Regions from separate parts of the Homo sapiens genome. Here regions 2 and 3 are each linked to region 1. Evidence: promoter capture Hi-C in 16 types of primary human blood cells and fetal thymus (Javierre and others, 2016). All regions are on one chromosome and are shown on one strand. Each heading gives the region's core, a stretch centred on a gene start or on the middle of the fragment in contact. The rest is flanking DNA. Distances are from core to core; before and after follow the strand shown. Region 1 holds the start of PTS (6-pyruvoyltetrahydropterin synthase). Region 2 overlaps NCAM1 (neural cell adhesion molecule 1). Region 3 has its middle 170 kb from the start of NCAM1.

Region 1 (4,733 bases), core at 248-2,747:
CCTCAGGTGTTTAAGCTTATTATACAACCCCTTTTTTTTGAGATCCTCTTTATTATTCCCCCCAATGTAGTTTGGATGTTTGTCCCCTCCAATTGTCATGTTGAAATGTGATCCCCAGTGTTGGAGATGGGGCCTAGTGGGAGATGTTTGGCTCATGGAAGTGGATCCCTTATGAATGGCTTGGTGCCCTCCCTGAAGCAATGAGTGAGTTCTCGCTCTATTAGTCAATGGGCGAGCTGGTTGTTAAAAAAAGCCTGGCACCTCCTCTCCTCTCTCTTGCTCCCTCACTTGCCCTGTGAGTTGCCTGCTTGCTCGCCCTTCGCCTTCCACCATGAGTGGAAGGTCCCTGAGGCCTCAACAGAAGCAGATGCTGGTGCCATGCTTCTTGTACAGCCTGCAGAACCAAATAAACCTCTTTTCTTTATAAAATACCAGTCTCAGTATTCCTTTGTGGCAATGCAAAATGGAATAACACACCCCCACTTTCTCCTGCTCAGCCACTTCTTGTATTTAGAGTGCTAAAGTCTTTTGCACAAAATTTTCTCAGTGTACCCTCCACAAAATAGGCCAGATTGGAAACCCCATACAAGATCCCTGATGCATCCGTTACCTAGCACAAGCCCTGACAAGCACGAAACAAAACCTGGTTTAGCGAATGGAGGGATGAATCCTGTTAGATAGCGATGGTCATCCTCATTTCACAGACGACGATACGGAGGGCCAGAGGGTGGAGCTGGTTAGTGCGTGGTAAAATTCCTCAAAATCAACTCGTCAGTGCATGCAAGCAGTATGTATGATCGGGATTCAAATCCCAACTATGCTGCTTCGGAAACTGAACGTCTGGGCTCATTTTTTTTTTTTTTTCTCCTAGCCACTAGACCACCAGGGACTGGGTTCATCCAGTCTTTGGTAAAAAAGGGGCTAAAATTTGCCTTGTAATTACATTAGATATGGTGGCCAATGCTCCTGGCATACAAGATTAGCTAACATTTACTGAGTGTCTACGCCGCGCCAGGTACTGTGTAACATAGGCGAGTTTAACACTGCTGAGTTTCACAGCAACCCTGTGGTCTACACCAAGGGACTCCTAGGGGCAGAGACGTTTCTTCGAGTCGCAGAACCGGGTGTGGGCCCCGCACCCAGACGTGGGCCATCGCCCTCCGCAGTCGGCTCCGTTAACCATCAAGCTCCCCCACCCCTCCAGGGCTGGGGACACTCCAGCCCCCATCAGGATGCTGGAGGCCGTCCGAAGCCCCACGAAGCCGACCAGCGCGCGTCGCCCCAGCAGCCCCCGCGCCCCTCCCGGGCCCGACGTCAGCACGCCCGCCGGCCCCGCCCCGGTGACGTTCCGGGGCCCGGCGCCCACCGCCCGCCGCTGTACCTGTGTGCACACCCTACCTGTACAATCGGTGGCTCGCGCTGAAGGAGATGCGGCGGGACACTTGTGCCTGGCAGCGACGGCCACCACCTTCCGTGCTCATCTTCCCGGCGCTGTCTGCGGTGCTCGGCCGGCACCTCCTCCCGCCGCGCGGCCGGTGCCTCCTCCCACCGCGGCTGCGCAGTGCGTGCCAGACGCGCCCCTAGGAAGTGCGTCTCCGCTTCCGCTCTGGCCAATCCCGGCCTCGGGAGACAGTTAAGGGTGTCTCTCGCTATCTGAATCTCTTCGGAGAGCAAGATTTGGGATACCTAAGCATACCCTGGAGTGGTCAGGGTGGGTGGGGACCCTGTGTCCTTGATCTGTTTGCCCCGCCTGAGGTCACGCCACGTAGTTAGGGCCCGTCTGGGCACACTTTGGGTCCTGAGTGACCTCTCTGAGCCTCCTCTCCCACTCTCTCCTGTAAAGCTCCAGTGACTGGTGACTCAATCGGATGAACCCCAGGGCCACAGTCCGCTTTATAGACCAAAAGGAGCAGGAATTGAGCCAGGCGGGCGTGGTGACGCACTCCTGTAGCCCCAGCTATTGAGAAGGAGAGGGATCACTTCAGCCCAGGAGTCCAACCTGGGCAATAGAGCAAGACCCTCGTTTCTCTTTTTCTTTTTTCTTTTTAATTATTATTATACTTTAAGTTCTAGGGTACATGTGCACAACGTGCAGGTTTGTTACATAGGTATTCATGTGTTATGTTGGTTTGCTGCACCCATCAACTCGTCATTTACATTAGGTATTTCTCCTAATGCTATCCCTCCCCCAGCCCCCTACTCCCTGACAGGCACCGGTGTGTGATGTTCCCCACCCTGTGTCCATGTGTTCTCATTGTTTGATTCCCACCTATGGGTGAGAACATGCAGTGTTTGGTTTTCTGTCCTTGTGATAGTTTGCTGAGAATGATGGTTTCCAGCTTCATCCATGTCCCTGCAAAGGACATGAATTCATCGTTTTTATGGCTGCATAATATTCCATGGTGTACATGTGCCACATTTTCTTAATCCAGTCTATCATTAATGGACATTTGGGTTGGTTCCAAGTCTTTGCAATTGTGAATAGTGCCACAATAAACATACAGGTGCATGTGTCTTTAAAGTAGCATGATTTATAATCCTTTGGGTATATACCCAGTAATGGGATGGCTGGGTCAAATGATATTTCTAGTTCTAGATCCTTGAGGAATCGTCACACTGTCTTCCACAATGGTTGAACTCATTTACACTCCCACCAACAGTGTAAAAGCATTCCTATTTCTCCACATCCTCTCCAACATCTGTTGTTTCCCAACTTTTTAATGATCGCCATTCTAACTGGTGTGAAATGGTATCTCATTGTGGTTTTGATTGGCATTTCTCTGATGGCCAGTGATGATGAGCATTTTTTCATGTGTCTGTTGGCTGCAGAAATGTCTTCTTTTGAGAAGTGTCTGTTCATATGCTTTGCCCACTTTTTGATGGGGTTGTTTGATTTTTTTTCTTATAAATTTGTTTAAGTTCTTTGTAGATTCTGGATATTAGCCCTTTGTCAGATGGGTAGATTGCAAAAATTTTCTCCCATTCTGTAGGTTGCCTGTTCACTCTGATGGTAGATTCTTTTGCCGTACAGAAGCTCTTTAGTTTAATTAGATCCCTTTTGTCTATTTTGGCTTTTGTTGCCATTGCTTTTGGTGTTGTAGTCATGAAGTCCTTGCCCATGCCTATGTCCTGAATGGCATTGCCTAGGCTTTCTTCTAGGGTTTTTATGGTTTTCGGTCTGATATTTAAGTCTTTAATCCATCTTGAGTTAATTTTTGTGTAAGGTGTAAGGAAGGGATCCAGTTTCAGCTTTCTACATATGGCTAGCCAGTTTTCCCAGCACCATTTATTTAATAGGGAATCCTTTCCCCATTTCTTGTTTTTATCAGGTTTGTCTAAGATCAGATGGTTGTAGATGTGTGGTGTTATTTCTGAGGCCTCTGTTGTGTTCCATTGGTGTATATATCTGTTTTGGTACCCATACCATGCTGTTTTTGTTACTGTAGGCTTGTAGTATAGTTCGAAGTCAGGTAGCGTGATGCCTCCAGCTTTGTTCTTTTTGCTTAGGATTAATACCGTTTCTTTAAAAAAAAATTTTTAAAGAGCAAGAATTTGAGAGCACAAATAGGACCACGTGACAACAGTCCTTTGGACTGTTGTGTAATGATCCTTACTAAGGGAAATTCTAAAGCCATTCTTATCCACAAGCATGTATGGACCCATTTATTACTCTGGGTTGGCATAGTGTGAATACAGACACCCCTAAACACATATTAGCAATTCTTCTGCCAGTGTAGACACATTGAGAGTGAAAGGATCTTGTTTCCTCACATCTACTCACAAGAGTAACCAAACTACACACAGTTCCCAGAATCATGTCACCTCTTGCTTCCATTCACTCTTTCACTAAATATTTATTGGGCATCTACTATGTGGCTGGCATTGTTCCAGGTACTGGAGAGGACAGCTCCACTCTATATGAGAAAAATCATCACTGTATATGATGAAAAGCAGGACAAGTCACTGATTAATAACAGGCTTGGAAAAGTTTCCTGTAAAAAGAAAGATAAAATCATGGGGGCGATAGAAATAAGCTCAAATGGTGATTTCCCTCAAATATCTCCTATTTACAGCTATATATTCTGTTTGTTCTGCATTAAACTACTAACAGGTTATTTAGCAAACACTCTCCATACATTTTCAGATGTTTGTCTCATCTACCCCATTGTACTGTAAAGAAAAAACTTCAAATAACATTTAGAGATTTTCGAGATAGAGACTGTTTAGTTCAATACTTTCACTTTACAGATAAGAAAATACAGCCACAGATAAGTGAATTACTATTGCGAGATCACTCAGAACAGAAACATTATTTCCCAGGTATGGACTGCCTCAGTGATAAATACTCTCTAACAGTCAGTGGTTACACAAATAGTTGCTCATTCCAAAACCAGCTTAAAGAATCAAAATAAAGTGAAAGAGTAAGAGAAATTTCTGCAAAATTATTTTTATTAATAATACTTGTTTGTTTTAGTAAAATATTTCACTGCATTTGCAGAGTTGAAGTTTAACCTGTTTGGAAATAGGATTGTTGCACACGTATTGAGATGAGGTGTTTAGGATGGGACCTAATCCAACATGACTAATGTTCTTGTAGAAAGGGGAAACTTGGACTCAAAAACTGACACATACAGAGGGAAGATCATGTGAAGACACAGACAACACCATCTCCAAGCCCAGGAGAGAGAACTGGAACAGATCTTTCTTCAAAGCCCTCAGAAGGAAAAAACCAA
Region 2 (4,733 bases), core at 1,661-4,160, 890 kb before region 1:
GCTGAGAAGAGGGGAAGGCGTTGTTCACTAACAACAGTGTAACTTACCTGAAGGCAGGACATGACATTATTAAACCATGTTTCCTAGAACACTGTCTGAAGACCCCTGCAGTGGAAAGGACACTAAATTGTGAATAACTTAGATCTGAGCACTAAATATATCTTGGGTTTTGCTTCTGATGTATTAGTTTGCTCCCTCATAACAGTTTTTGCTGGCCACTAAATGGCTTATGCAGATGAGATGAAATACCAAAAAAAGTCTGTTTAGAGAGCATTAGGAAAAAGATATTAATGCTGCCCCAATTTTGTAACATATTCTTGGCACATGAAATATTGAAGGCCAATTTGCAAAGAGAAACATGTAATTTATGTCTACTCCAGTCTTATTCAAAAGGATTTGAGGTGGAAAATATAGAATTCATTTGACTGGGAGTGCCCACTTGAGCTCACCAACTACAGAACATTTAATCTTCGATATTCATAAAGAGGCATATTTTAATAAACATTTTTCTATGAAATCTCACCTTGTTAAAAAGGTTACAGTCATAATACTAGATCTTATTCTACTCTTTGGACCCTTTCCCAAAACACAGTGGCACCTTTTCAAAAGGCCAGAAAGGACATAGAAAGAGCCTCTTGAAGAATGTCAATGTGCAATGCCAATGGGTTCCACGCAGAAACCACAAGAGGTACCACTCTCTTTGCCAGCCTTGTCTGGAGGCAGCTTTTTGGGCACCTTATTGATCAGTCTTGCTCTTTGAAATGAGCAGACTAATGTTTGACAGGACAAACCCATAGAAAAAGCCAGAAGCTCTTCTCCCTGTCGATAAATTTAAATAACTCCAAAGCTAAAATGATTCCAGTTGTTTGATGCAAATACGCATTTTATTTTGGAGTCACTTGAAAATATGTGCCAGCTGAACTAGCTTAGCTCTTGTTTAAAGTCCACCAGGTCTGTTGGGCTGTCATTTCTCTAGCGGCTTTGCAGTGTTGTGATGGTCCCTTGGAGAAAGCACTGCAGCCTCAGAGCCCTGGCACTACCAGTCCACCACCCTTCTCTTTCCCTTCTATAATGAAGGCATAACACAGCAAAATTTCAGGGCAGTTGCCTGAATGGACAAAAGATTATTTACTGAAAAATAGATAGTACTCAAGCAACAAATAGTTTTAGAGTACTTTTGAGTAACGCATTGTGCTAAGTGCTACAAATATATGAATTAGTATGAGACAGCCCTTACTGTCAAAAGCTCACCACTTAGGCGAAGGAGGTGATCAGATATCAACTACATACAAGAATACCTTTATTATTCCCATGAATTTTTGCATAATCTATTTCTGCTTTGTCACCTTAAGCCTAGATTTTTGTATTTGCCGTAAACCTGTGTCTATTTGGGAATTAGAGAAGTCAGTTTAAACTTATGAGAGAAAGAATTAAACTTTTTATTCTGTTAGTAGCCTAATTCCTCCTTAAAGGAGATCCATATTCTAAACTCTACAGTTAAAAATGGTTAAGATGGCAAGTTTTATGTCATGTGTATTTTCCCACAATTAAAAACTAAGAAAGAGACATCCCACCATTTAGCTGGGCAGAATCTGTGAGTCTAAGCTTGGCCAGATTCTCGTAACTGTTATCTGTTTTCAACAAAAACTGTTTCTCGACTAGTGCATGTAAATAAAGCCTCCTTCAGAGCATCCACAGAGTGGAAGAAGGAGATCCAAGAATACATGTGTAACAGGTATCTCATTGTTGTGGCTTCTCTGATCTTTTGTTCTCATGTCTAGAACAATCTGAAAATTCATTTTGTTGGTTGGCTAATGGTAGAATCCATTTGTCCTGACTTTCTGGTCACCGTGTCCCTTACAGAATCTAAAAGACACTGCTGGCACCCTTGCCAGTGAGGTGGAGGGTAGGGTATTTTCTTTCTTGCTATTTCATGTGGATGCTCAGAAATTATAAAAACTAAAACTGATGGCAATTTCACTTCCTTAGCACAGAATTGGGGAAAAGACAGCTCACACATTAGTAACTCTGTGCTTATGTTTTGAACCTTTACCAGGAATGTGGAGGCAATATATCTTGGTTCAACTTTTGTCTTTCCATTAGTAATATTATCATAATAAAGCTTCCTTGACACAGTACCTATTTCCAAGCTGTTTTGTACGTTTTATGATGGACATCTGGGTTAAAGTAACTTTTTTTGCACTCCTTCTGCACTTCAGCTGGTTGGTGGGGCAATGTGTAAAGTGCTAAAGTAACAGCAACTCAGGAACTCAAAAGGCACAGCCACCTTGCTCCCAGGATGCTACCAGCTGGGGGGTGCTGACTGTCCAGGGGCCTCCCCAGGTACTATTTATTAGTTATGTCTCTTGAAAAATAACCTAAGATTTATAACGGTCTTTTCTGAATTTTTGAATTTCCTACTACAAAACATTGGTGAGTTGGGTGCAATTCCCCCCAAGAATTGAGTAAGACTTCCTTTATTTTCAGTGGGGGAGAGGAGAGCTCGTCTTAATTTATATATTTCTGGTATTTGCACTTCAGATACAAAATTTTGATGCATGTCTACAATACAAGCTCCATGAGATAGGAACTGTTGATTCTCCAGCCTTGGGCAGTCACAGAATACCTGTTGTTGACTAGCTGAGTAAAAGGTTATGACTGCAAAATAGAAAGCTGCGCCACACAGGCTAGGCAGGATTTTTTGCTTCACTGCAGTGAGTGAGGTGCTCTCAGAGCACTGTGGCTCAGGCCTTCCACCAGAGGGAGCAGGGATGCCACCCCACTGCAGAGGACACTTGTGCAGAACCCTGGGAAGTGCCTGAAGAGGAAAAACAAAAATCCCCAAGCACAGCAAAAAAGAATTGGCATCAAAATGAATGTGAAGAAGAAGAAATCGTGGGGTCATTATACTCAGTGACATGGCTAGATAAAGCCAAAACAGACCTTTCTTTTCCTGCTGCTTAAATGTCCTAAGGCTTCTTAGGCAGAGAAGCCCCATGCCCTAGGAGCAACATCTTCTAGAGCTGCTTGTCTCCTGGTTACCAATGTGGAGTCAGTCCAAGCACAATGCACCTCATCTTAAAAGCAGAAAGGAGAGTGGCCACGGCCAAACCTCTCTAGAGTTCCCCTCTGCAATGCTCTGAAACAGTTCTATTTGTGTCTCTGACTCCGGGGAAAAGATCAGCTATATGGGTTGTTTGGGGCCTGGCACAAGTGGCTATGATGACTTCATTCCAAACTGGGCTGAGAGTCCACCTAAGGACAAATAATTCTCCACAAAACCACCATCAAATCACACAAGGCAAAAAGAGTTTAATATTCAAGGTCTCCACTTTCCTCTCCAGGCAAACTTAAGCCTAAAAAGGGAAACAGCTTGAAGCACTGGGCATCAGAATACATCGCTAGTTTAAAAGCAGATTGTTAGCCCTTTCCAAGTCCCTCAGCATGTCAACTGGAAGAGAAGGCTCTGCAGAGGACAGCAATGTGAAGTGAAATCCTAAAGCACCAGTCCTCTTCCTGGATCTCCATCCATTGATCGTGTCAAACACAAGGTTGATTTTAAAGCCCTGTATCATGTAAAAGGGAAGATAATCCAAGAGAATATCTATCTAAGACACATCAAGATTTTTTTTTTTTTAAAAGAACCTGTCTTAAACTAAAGAGGCAAGACTTGAGTTTCATTTAGCTAATGAAGCTTTGGAAAGTAAATTATCCTTCCAGGGATGCTGAAACAAGCAACGACAACAAAAGACACTCTCCATTTGTCTAGTGGTTCCACCCTATCAGGCTCTAGATGGAACCCACCAGTCCACAGATTGCCAATTTAGGACATTCCTGAGAGCCTATTGATGGGACAGAACTGCTGAATAGTCATAAATCAGAACATTCCAAGGAGTGAATGGGATAATACTGCAGGTTTATTTTAAGGTAAGGATCATAGCAAACAGGAAATTATATATAATTCCAGAGAGAAACAAAGTCAACAAATTCAAATGAACAATGGCAAGTTCCTATAGGGCAGGACATTGCTTATTTCTTTACATTGCCCAGTGCATCTGGCCCAGTCTATGGCGCTAGGGACTTACTGATCATCTAATTTGCAAAAAAACCTCACAACCACCCCCCAAAATAATCTATGGGTTTATCTAAAAAGAAAGCAGAGGTTTAGACCCTTTCTACTAGGTCAGAGGATAACAATTTTAGATACAGAAAAGATATGAAACACGGTAGCTAATTGGACTCATGCAGACTTTATTTTATTTAATTTTTTTGAGACGGAGTCTTGGTCTGTCCCCCAGGCTGGAATGCAGTGTGGTGCGATATCGGCTCACTGCAACCTCTGTCTCCTGGGTTCAAGCAATTCTCCTGCCTCAGTCTCCTGAGTAGCTGGGATTACAGGTGCACACCCCCATGCCTGTCTAATTTTTGTATTTTTAGTAGAGACGGGGTTTCACCATGTTGGCCAGGCTGGTCTGGAACTCCTGACCTCAAATGATCCACTTGTCTCGGCCTCCCAAAGTGCTGGGATTACGGGTGTGAGACACCACACCTGGCTGGACTCATGGAGACTTTAAAAGGCTTTCCAAAAGTTGGGGGATTCCACTTCTCCAGGCAGAAAGACCTTCATGAAACTAATATGTACTTAAAAAAAATCCACATAGAAGAGGCAGAGAATGTGTTAACAGGGTGGGGAACAGAGAAGGCTGGCCACGTTCAGCAAGACCAATGAAGAC
Region 3 (4,733 bases), core at 1,140-3,639, 570 kb before region 1:
CAGTGACCACGTAGCCAGAGGACCACAGCCCAGATAGGACAAGGACATGTGCGTGGATGCCAACGAGATGTCACCGAGGATGGGATCGCACCCCTGCCCCCCACTTCATGCAAGGGCACCAGGTAGCCCCTCCCTAAATTGGATGCAACTTCCTGTTAAGTGAAAAATGGGAGACCTGAAATTAACTGAGATTAATTTCCTGCCACAGAATGGGAGCTTGAAACTGAAAATCATTTGAGTTATAGAAAATGTAGCTAATTTTTTTTTGTAGGAATGGGTCTGTGAACTGAGGTCCTCATCCACAATGACATTTCTTCATGGAGTATTTTGGGTCTTGGTGCAGCTGTGGGACGTTCTGATGGTGTTAGGGTGTGCCATCGGAGATACGATTTCCTGGTTCTACTTTTCCAAAAGCAGAAGAGGACAGAGTGAGGGCTGGGAGCCTCTTCCTGAGCTGCATTTCAAAGCAGTGTGCTCAGACTCCAAGTGGGGAGATGCCTTCTCTTTCCTCTCTCACACAAGCTCACCATTTCAACCCCAGAGTTACACTGTCTCAGCGAAAAGAATGAAACTGATACAACCAGCTGCTGGGATTCTGGTACCAACACAGCCAGCACCTGACCGCCCCCTGCAGGGTTCGACGGGGAGTGACTCATCCACAGTGAAAATGGCCAAACAAAAACAATGACTAGGCAGGCAGAGCCACCCAAATGTCAGCAGAGAGAAAAACTGTCAATGAATGAGCCCCAAATGGCTCTATAACAGACATCCCAAGGTTGGGGTGCAGAACCCGGGTCACCCCACCTGGCAGGCAGTCGGTGACCACCCATTGGCGATGGGCGAGGGGACGTGGGACATCTGAGCCTCCTCAAGTCACTATTGTTGAAATTCACAATCAACATGGGTCACTGCTTTGGCAGGCGGCCCGTCCTTCTCCGCCCCCTCTTCTTGAGTTTGTAGAAAAGGCTTTTCTCTGGACTCAAAGGAGGTAGGATTCCCCCGCCTTTTTTCACTACCTGCTTCTTGCCTCGCTGAATTCTTTTTTGTACCTTCTCCCTTTGGTGAGTGGGTGCCATTTATCCAGCAAGAATGAACCAACTTATATAGTCTTTCACTCATTCCCTTGGCTTCCCTTGTTTTCTTTTGTCTGCCCTTGAGTTTCTTGGATTAGCCTGCCTCTGCTCAAGGCTGGAGCATGGTTTTCACAGGGTGCTTCCTGGGTTGACTTCAGGATTTAGGAGGTCAGGGGATGGGGTGCTTTATCTCTGCATCCTCAACTACAATATTCACCTCCACCAGAGAGCAGAGAAGTAGATGGTCCAAGCTTTGCACCAGACTAGAAAGAATACTCCCCGGGAGAGTTCCCAGCCCCCAGAGGTCAACCATTAATCACCTTCTGGAAGCCTGTTGCAGGGTTTGTGATGGAAATGACTCTGTCGTCATGGTAACTCTGCCTGGCCTGGCCAGGGGCTGCTCCAGCCTAACTGGCTCTTCTGGGTTTCAGGTTTATTTACAAGCTGTGACTCCTGCCTGGTAGGTCTTCAGAGCAGCTTCTTGCCATCTGGAACCTGAGGGAAAGGCTGGGGATGACATAGGCCTAAACCAGTCCTTGTTCAAAATGATGGTTTCAAACCTGGTTCTCCCATTCAAGAAAGATGAGACCTTTCACCGTAGTGCTAACATGTCTTGCCTGTTGACTGGACGTGTCCCAGAGGGACAGAATTGTATATCTGGACTTTGAAGTGGAAACACCTAGGGTCTGAGCAAGGGCTCTGCCTCTTACCAGTTGTCCATCTTTGGGCAAGTTACTAAAACACTGATCTTCAGATTCTCCCCCTCTAAGAGAAGTCCTCATACCAAGTTCACAGTGTAATTGTTAGAATTAAATAAGATAACTACATAATGCAGGAATGGCACACTTTTTCTGTAAAGGCCCAGGCAGTAAATATTTTAGGCTTTGCAGGCCACGCGGTCTCTGTCTCAACTACTCAACTCTGCCCTCATAGCATGAAAGCAGCCCGGATCAAGAGTAAACTAAACAGTGCAGCAGAGTTCCAGTAAAACTCAGGTGGCCCTTGCTGGGCAGTCTGGGCTGACCACGCATTCTAAGCAGGAGCTACATCTGAATGAATAATATGCATCGCTGGCCACCGCGGAGAAGAGGCACCAGTGAGGGCAGCAGTGTGGTGACACAGCCGAGGGCAGGGTGAGAAGTTCAGGCTGGCTTCAGAGCCCCAGTTCTGACAGGCTCTGCACGGCCGCTCACATCTCCGGGGAAAGCCACAGTGTGCCAACAGCCCAGCGACCTGCTATACTGAGCTGTGATTTATTAATGCTCTCACACAGGGCCTCTCTCCAAGAGGTTTGCTGGGGTTGAGGGAAGAATATGGGATCCCTAATTCATTCAGAACACTCTGATTTATACCAGCTCCTGGCAGCGGCGTTTTCCAAGACCCCTCAAGAGTGAAGGGGATTTAGAACTCTGTTTTCCATTCTGTGTTCACTGGTTCCAAACAACTAGCGGGTTAGAGATAGACCAAACTGGTTCTGCCTGAAAGACTCTCAGCCCTGCCGAGGGGTAAGCAGGTGTTACCCATCAGTCCAACTCCCTCCTAAGACAAGAGGTCAGGTCCTCGGAGCCAGCAGGCTGCGGGCTGAGTACATCTGTCAGTTCGGAGGGGTGGCTCACAGCAGGTCAGCTGGGGGGTGGCCTGTTTCAGAACTCAGGCCAGTGATCTCTTTGGGGGCTGGCAGTTGACTGGCAGCAGGTCTGCGCTGGTCAGGAGGATCATGAGGGAGGTGGGGTTTGGTGCTGGAATGGATGAGTCTGGGACTTTTCAAGTCCATGGTCACAGTGTGACCACAAGAAAGAGCTTTTCCCTCCTGGGCCTCAGTTTACCTCTCTGTAAAACAGGGTCCTCTCTTCTGTCCTCTCAGCCCTCCGTGAGTAGGTGGGTTGTGGTGAAGCCTGGCTGATGGTAACTGTGGGAACAGGTGGTGCACGACTCCAAGAGGGTTCTATTTATGCGGTTTATTCTGATGACACTGTGTTTTCTCCCGACAAGCTCGGGTGCTGAGCAGCTGTTCTTTCGCTGTCACCCCTGTGGCGTCGCTGTGAGGGGGAGTATTTCTACTTCTCACTGACAGTTTTCCTTGCCATGGAGGCTTTATTCAGCTCCTTAATACCAATGCTTTACATGTGGATGCAACTTCACAGTTTACAAAGCAATTTCAGAGACATCTTCTGATTTTATCTCCATAACAACCCATTCAGGTTGGCGTGGCCGACGGGTCTATCCTGAATTAGAGATGAGGAAACCGCCTGTCAGGTTAGGTGTTTCAACCCTGTGCTGGGTTCCCACCACCGGTAGGTGGCAGGGCTGAGACTGAGACATACACTTACCCCGCCACATTAAAACTTCTCAGGAAAACTGCTGCCTTTTAAGAAGCTTTTGTTCTGGCTGGCAATGGTGGCTCATGCCTGTAATCCCAGCAATTTGGGAGGCCAAGGTTGGGGGATCACTTGAGGTCAAGAGTTTGAGACCAGCCTGGCCAACATGGCAATATCCTGCCTCTACTAAAAATACAAAAATTAGCCAGGCGTGGTGGCAGGTGCTTGTAATCCCAGCTACTTGGGAGGCTGAGGCAGGAGAATTCTTGAGCCTGGGAGGTGTACGTTGCGGCGAGCCAAGATTGTGCCACTGCACTCTACCTGGGTGATACAGTGAGACTCCGTCTCAAAAAAAAAAAAAAAAAAAAAGAAGAAGAAAAAAAAGCATTTGTTCCAGTGTACTTTTATTACATTAATGTAATAAAAGTATCAAGGAACAGTTTGTTTTGGAGGGGCAGTGGGAAGGAATTTTTAAAAATAGTATAATGAAGAGGGCTTTTATTCTGTAAAGCTGCCTTCTGTCCTCAGTGCTGAACTTCCTGTCATCATCACCAAAATAAATTCCACTTTCAAATGTGACTTTTCCCCCAGGCCTTCCAAAAACTCAAGCCAGACAGGTTTGAGGGAGAGTGTGAGCTATTTTTACTACTGTCTGGGGTTCTCCCTATTCATTGTTGGAGGGGGAAAAAAAGACAGTTGAAAATCCCCAAGAATTTTCTCTGGCTGTGAATTTGCACCCAGCTGTCTCCACACACCCACACCCGGCAGCATGCGGCTGTTGGACACTGCTGGCCCTGAGTTCAACATCATTTTCATCTTTGACAGGCTTGCTCAGCCACCATCTCTGAATTATAGTAGTAGTCATAACCCAACAATGCTCTGGGCAGGTCCTTGGTACCCAAGGCCAAAGACTTTCCAGTCTTTGGAAACCAGTCATAACCTTCTATGGCCAGATGTGAAGGAATGGAGTCCTGACCTCACAGTCCCAGTTTCTAAAGTGATCCATTCTCTGAATTCCTACACCCAGAAATGCTCTGGCTTTGCACCCTTGGGTCCTCTGCCTTTCCAAGGTCCCACCTGACTGGTGGCCAAAATTGTGAGCCATTGATGTAAACAATAAAAATGATAGTAGAACAAACCCATTAGGCTGAGCCAAGTCACCCTGACCAGAAAAAAAAAAAGCCACATCTGAAGAAAGTGAAGACAAACAGGAAATCTTTGCAAATAGTCACTCTTATCTCCACTCACCTCATATCCCTGCCCTTCCTCACTATCCCTTTCCCCTTTCATCTTTCCTTCCTTCTTCCCCTTTCTCCTATAATACCTGTGTTTCCTCACTAAA

Evidence for each region. Contacts are between HindIII fragments. The CHiCAGO score rates a contact against its expected background, and 5 or more counts as called.
Region 2: a contact is called between a fragment that was not itself captured here and the fragment with the promoter of PTS in region 1, in 1 of 17 cell types (non-activated CD4 T cells). The highest score is 5.4, in non-activated CD4 T cells.
Region 3: a contact is called between a fragment that was not itself captured here and the fragment with the promoter of PTS in region 1, in 3 of 17 cell types (fetal thymus, non-activated CD4 T cells and total CD8 T cells). The highest score is 8.2, in fetal thymus.

The regions. Positions count from the first base shown.
Region 1 is chr11:112,223,192-112,227,924 of GRCh38, reverse strand. It overlaps PTS (6-pyruvoyltetrahydropterin synthase), which reads right to left and starts at 1,497. Exons shown (of 6, transcript NM_000317.3): 1 at 1,399-1,497. The coding sequence starts at 1,481. RefSeq lists silencers at 565-859, 1,217-1,626. The HindIII fragment of the contact is 9,611 bases long and covers 18-4,733 here.
Region 2 is chr11:113,112,672-113,117,404 of GRCh38, reverse strand. The region is part of intron 1 of NCAM1 (neural cell adhesion molecule 1); the gene reads right to left. Among named protein-coding and RNA genes, the nearest start is that of NCAM1-AS2, 150 kb to the right of the region's middle. The HindIII fragment of the contact is 1,572 bases long and covers 2,125-3,696 here.
Region 3 is chr11:112,794,007-112,798,739 of GRCh38, reverse strand. No RefSeq gene overlaps it. Among named protein-coding and RNA genes, the nearest start is that of NCAM1, 170 kb to the left of the region's middle. RefSeq lists enhancers at 1-122, 555-654, 685-734, 123-800. The HindIII fragment of the contact is 2,125 bases long and covers 1,327-3,451 here.